Linked DNA regions of Homo sapiens: region 1 is linked to region 2. The links are contacts of gene promoters, found by promoter capture Hi-C in human tissues and cell types (Jung and others, 2019). All regions are on one chromosome and are shown on one strand. The core of a region is centred on a gene start or on the middle of the fragment in contact, and the rest is flanking DNA. Distances in the headings are between cores, read along the strand shown. Region 1 holds the start of DPPA3 (developmental pluripotency associated 3). Region 2 holds the start of FOXJ2 (forkhead box J2).

Region 1 (2,700 bases), core at 134-2,633, 320 kb after region 2:
CAAGTGTTCGATACCAGCCTGGGCAACATGGAGAGACCCACTGTCAAAAATAAAAATAAAAATAAAAATAGGACGGGCGCGCTGGCTTACGCCTGTAATCCCAGCACTTTGGGAGGCAGAGGTGGGCGGATCACGACGTCAGGAGATCGAGACCAGTCTGGCCAACATAGTGAAACCCTGTCTCTACTAAAAATACAAAAGATTAGCCGGGCGTGGTGGCACATGCCTGTAATCCAGCTACTTTGGAGGCTGAGACAGGAGAATTGCTTGAACCCGAGAGGCGGAGGTTGCAGTGAGCCGACACCGCGCCACTGCACTCCAGCCCGGGCGACAGAGACTCCGTCTCAAAAAAATATATAAATAAAAATAATGTTGGCGAGAGATTAAGAAAAACTTTAGGTTCAACTGAAGTTAAAGTTTCTCATATTGTTTCATTTTTTTTCCCTATCTTTTGTTTATTTGGTCTCTGTATTTGTTCCTTTTTACCGTTCCTGACATGTATTTGCTGTTGGGGAAGATACTGATGCAACGACGCTACGAGCCGCGTTCTGTGATTCCAATTATTTATCCCCAGAAACTGGTCTTAGAAATCTGAAGTACTGGCCGGGCGCAGTGGCTCAAGCCTGTAATCCCAGTACTTTGGGAGGCCGAGGCGGGCGGATCACGAGGTAAGGAGATCAAGACCACCCTGGCTAACACGGTGAAACCCCGTCTCTACCAAAAATACAAAAAAAAAAACGGGCGCGGTGGCGGGCGCCTGTAGTCCCAGCTACTTGGGAGGCTGAGGCAGGAGAATGGCGTGAACCCAGGAGGCGGAACTTGGAGTGAGCCGAGATCGCGCCACTGCACTCCAGCCTGGGCGACAGAGCAAGACTCCGTCTCAAAAAAAAAAAAAGAAAAAAAAAGAAAGAAATCTGAAGTACTCCTAAGCATAGTGAATAAAATAATACATTTCTCACCACCACCATCACCGCTTTTAATAAAGTCTTTGACCTCTCTGTGTTGACTCCCTCTGGTTTGAGGTTTACCTAAATACATTCCTCTTGCAAAGACTGAAGTCAACATTAAAAAAAAAAAAAAAAAAAAAAAAAAAAAGACGGCAGCCTTTTGACCTCCCAACCCCCCTATAGTCAGATAGTCAAGAAGGGCATTATCTGGCTTACCTGAATCGTCCCGGGAATTTTCTTCGGTGAGCATTTGTGGAGACCCTGGGATGTAGGTTGGATTAAACTGTGATGGGTCCATCGGCGTCTTGACACAACACTAGGCTTCTCCAGGATCTTTGAAACGTAGCAGAAACTGATGACAGAGCCTCAAATTGCTACCAGGTAGCCCGGAAAGAGGCTGAAAACCGGAGCTCCAACGAATGGTCAAAGAACTGACGTAAACTATAGGTCCGGCTTCCTTTTAAAATACAGATAAGCCAATCTTCCAGGATATTTGAATGTTAATGATCCCATGATTAGAGGATTAAGGGATCCAAATGATTAAAGGTGAATGGGTGTAGTTTAGACTCATAGGGTAGTTCTTCATCTGCTTTGCATTAAAATAATCTGTCGGATGTCATATCTGCTAGAAAATTTATTAAAATCCTCTTTTTGTGGTTCTGTCTCCCTGAGGTTGCCTTACATATAAGTTGTTTTTTTCTTGTTTTTTTTTTTTTTTTTTTTTCCCAAACTCTACTCCTGGAGATGGCTTCTGTTTTGTGAACTGGGCTTAAGTGTTCTAGTGCAGAGGAGAATGGCAGTTTTTACCGCCCCCGCCCCACCACCACCACTGCCCATAAACTCCCAATTAAGCTGAGAAAGTTTCCTTTAAGTTTTCCTTGCTTCAATCATCTTAAACCTTTGCTGCTACTAAGAAGAGAGGAATAATGAAGAAGTATCTGTTATGAACACTTTCATAGCTTGATATTTTAGGGACATGTATTTTTTATTTGTTAATTTGCTTTATAAACTATAAACAGTACCTAACATTTCTGAGCAGCTGAAATTAACTAACCTTACAAATTGCTACTCCCTCCCCACAAAAAAATGCTTGTATTTGTAGCAAAGCACAACAACATTTAACCACTGATTGTCTGCAGGAGGTGGAAGAACAAGTCCCCAGCTGCCCCTCTCATCTTTTTCCCGTCTTATTCAAATACGCACGTTCCCCCATTCCCTCTCTAGGTGGAAACCACGAGAAAATACTCAAAGGCAACCTTGTTTGGGTTTGGTAAAAAGCAAAAATTGAAGTTATGATTAAGAAATATTTTCATAGAGAATGAGCAGCCATAGGCATAGATCATGTCCCAACACTTTATGCAAGTGATTCTCAAAAGTGTGGTCTCCAGGATCGCTTAATCACCCAGCAGTTAAAGGCTGCAGTGACCTATGATCGTGCCACTGCACTCCAGCCTGGTAGACAGGGCAGGACCCTGCCTCTTGGGAAAAAAAAAAAAGTGCAGTTTACAACAAGCACCTAGTTAACTTAGATATACAAATTCTGAGCTCCAAACCAGCCCTACTGAATCAAAGACTGGCGCCCAGTGGTAATGCTTTAACAAGCCTCCCAGGCAATTCTGCATTTAGCCAGAAGACCCAGAAGTGATCCCCAGGTGATTCTGATGGGTGCTCAAGTTAAGCAGCCCTGCTTTACGGCACTGTGAACTTTCTACTTCTGTTGTTCAGCTCTTGGCTAATCTCCCTCTTGCCTGGG
Region 2 (2,861 bases), core at 208-2,707:
GTTGGGTTGTGTAAATCACTGCTACACAGTATGCATGTTCTCAAAATGCAGCTGTTTTCCGATAACCCTTTTCCTCAGCATGAAAACATCCACTTCCCTAAGGGACCTAAAATGAATCCCATCCCTTTAGTCCCCAAACACTAAGAAACCCATTTCTCAGAGCTTCTGCAGCAAGATGTGGGTTCAAATCCAGGAGCTCCCTTGGATCACATTTCCCATTGGATTTTCTGAGTCATCACTCTGTCTTCCCCGGCAGTGAAACCCACGATCCACCAGCTCAACCCCCTACACCCACTAGTGCCAGACAATGACAGAGAGAAGATGAAAGAAAGCACTAACCTGTCTCCAAGGTTCCTCCGGCAAAGGGAGGGAACCACCTGGTACTGGAGTTTGGGGTTGGAGGGATTCCCCTCTTCAGAGGCAGGTGACGGCTCTCATCCTCAGTGGCTCTTCCTGGACGAGGCTGAGCCTCCCAAGTTGGTGAGGGGAACTGGGTCCCCTGAGGATGAGGAGTCAAGGTTGGAGGAGGGGGAGGGGGAGGAGAAGGAGGTCCTACTTGGGGAAGGTGGCACACCCCCCACACCCTGCTTGTTACCCGGGGGAGGAGGGGAGGAGCCTCTCCCAACCAGGAGTTGTCTCCTCCCCCTTGGGGGAGTTCCCCTCCCCCCCAAACTGGATCTTTCTGAGGTGGAGGGCTCTTTCTGTCTGCTGGAGATAGGAGCGGAGGGGCTCCACCCCGTTCCACTGTCTAGGCACGAGGAAGTTGAGGGGGAGGTCTTCCCCTCTCCAGAAGGCTGAAAGCCGATTCCTCTTCTTTCCCTGGAGTGGCTTCTGAACGTAAGGACTCCTGTCTCCTGTGAATAGTGGTGGGCCGAGGGTGCCTACTCCACAGGCACAGCCCCGTCTCTCTTTGCCTCCAAAGTCCTGAACTGTTGAGAGTGTGTGTTTGGAGGGGCGGGGGCGCGCTAGGGTGGTCTCACTCTGCTTCCCTACGGAAAGCTCCCTTCTTTCCACTTCTGGGGGTCTCCTCCCCGGCCAGTACAGGGGTCTTCCTCGCCTCTAGGCAGGAGAGAGGCGTCCCCTCCAGGGGTCTCTTCTTTCCCTCACCCGAGTGGTAAGGGTCTTTTCTCTCCAACAGGGGGAGAGGTTGCTCGCGTCCCCGCTCCCGCCTCCGCTCCCGGGGTGCCCCAGAGGGTGGGGCTTTCGTACTCCCGGCTGTCCCTGAGCTGGCCTGGGCAGCACGGTCCGGGAGGCCGCGGCTCGAGACTCCGGTCCCTGCTACTGTGGCGGCAGCACCTCCTCTAGGGCCGTCCTGTCGGGTCCGCTCCCTTCGGCGCGTGGGGCTCCCCGCGCTGCCACCGCTCGGGCTCCGACCAGTCTGGGCTCCCGGGGAGCCAGAAGGCGGGCAGACAGTGTCAGGGCTCGGCGCGGGCTCGGGCTCGGCTCGGCTCCGCTGCAGGCCCCGGCTCCTCCCCGGCCTCCGCGCCGCGCTCCGCGCCCCTCCCCCTCCCCCGCCCGCCGGCCGCTGCCGCCACCGCCTCCCGGCGCGGGTTAAGGAGGAGCCGGGAGACGCCGAGCCGCGGGCAGCGCCGAGCCGCGAGCCTCGCTACCCGGTGTGCGCTCCGCCTGGAGAGCCACGGCCGCTCTCACGCCGGCGAGGGATCTCGCCGCCCTCGCCCACCTGCGGCCGCGTGGCTCCGGGAGTTCGCCGTCTACCCGGGATGACAACTCACTGCTCCCCGTCGGGAGAGTCCCTAGTGCGCACCGTATACCGTCAATTCCAGCTGACACCCCAACTCCGGCGTTTCATTCTGTTAAACTCCGTATACAGATGAACAGCCCCAGCTTTCTCAGGACTGTCTTTGATGGGCTTCTCTTTCCCTCGAGATAATTTATAAAGGATCATGAGCATTGAGGTGAAGATTGGGGTGAAGTTTATATGTTACCCTTATATCATCCTGGAATTCAGTAAATGCTCCTTGAATGAGTGGATACATGATAAATGAGCGTGTAACGGTGAAATAAACATCAGAAGATCTGGGTCCTGTTCCTTGTTTCAGCTTCCTAAACTTGTGCATGGCCCTTGTTCTCCGCAATCTTGCTCAGCGAAGAAGGGACCTTGATACTTGGCCTGCTTACCCTTTACAGCTGTCACATCCTGAAGTCATATTATTCTGCTGCAAATTCTCATATATTTCATACTCTGGCTTTTTTTTTTTTTTTTTTTTTTTTTTTGAGGTGTTGTTTCACTTATTGCCCAGGCTGGAGTGCAATGGCACGATCTGGGCCCACTGCAACCTACGCCTCCCGGGTTCAAGCGATTCTTCTGTCTCAGCCTCCCCAGCAGCTGGGATGCCTCAGCCTCCGGAGCAGCTGGGATTACAGGCGCGCGCCACCACGCCCGGCTAATTTTTGTATTTTTAGTAGAGATGGGGTTTCACCAAGTTGGCCAGGCTGGTCTCGAACTCCTGACCTCGTGATCCACCTTCCTCGGCCTCCCAAAGTGCTGGGATTACAGGTGTGAGCCACCGCGCCCGGCCCATACTCAGGCTTTTTAAACTTTTATCAAACTACCCTACTTTCTTTCCTTTCTTTCTTTATCTTTTTCTTCTTTTTAAATAGAGGCAGGGTCTCAGTATGCTGCCGAGGCTGGTCTTTAATTCCTGGGTTTAAACTATTCTCCCTTTTTATGCCTCCAAAGTGCTGGGATTACAGGCAGGAAACACGGCCCGGCCTACTCTCTACTTTATAGCACATAAGATAATAGGAGGCCAGGCGCAGTGGCTCACGCCCGTAATCCCAAAGCTTTGGGAGGCCGAGGCGGGGGGATCACTTGAAGTCAGGAATTGGAGACCAGCCTG

Evidence for each region. The method cuts DNA at HindIII sites, captures the fragments that hold promoters and counts their contacts. A contact is called where the count stands out against the background at its distance.
Region 1: the fragment with the promoter of DPPA3 here is called in contact with the fragment with the promoter of FOXJ2 in region 2 in 3 of the 25 tissues and cell types used here (mesendoderm cells, neural progenitor cells and thymus).

The regions. Positions count from the first base shown.
Region 1 is chr12:7,710,116-7,712,815 of GRCh38, reverse strand. It overlaps DPPA3 (developmental pluripotency associated 3), which reads right to left and starts at 1,383. Exons shown (of 4, transcript NM_199286.4): 1 at 1,164-1,383. The coding sequence starts at 1,245. The HindIII fragment of the contact is 17,940 bases long and covers 1-2,700 here.
Region 2 is chr12:8,031,312-8,034,172 of GRCh38, reverse strand. It overlaps FOXJ2 (forkhead box J2), which reads right to left and starts at 1,457. Exons shown (of 11, transcript NM_018416.3): 1 at 340-1,457. RefSeq lists silencers at 1,363-1,602, 1,623-1,772. The HindIII fragment of the contact is 12,101 bases long and covers 1-2,861 here.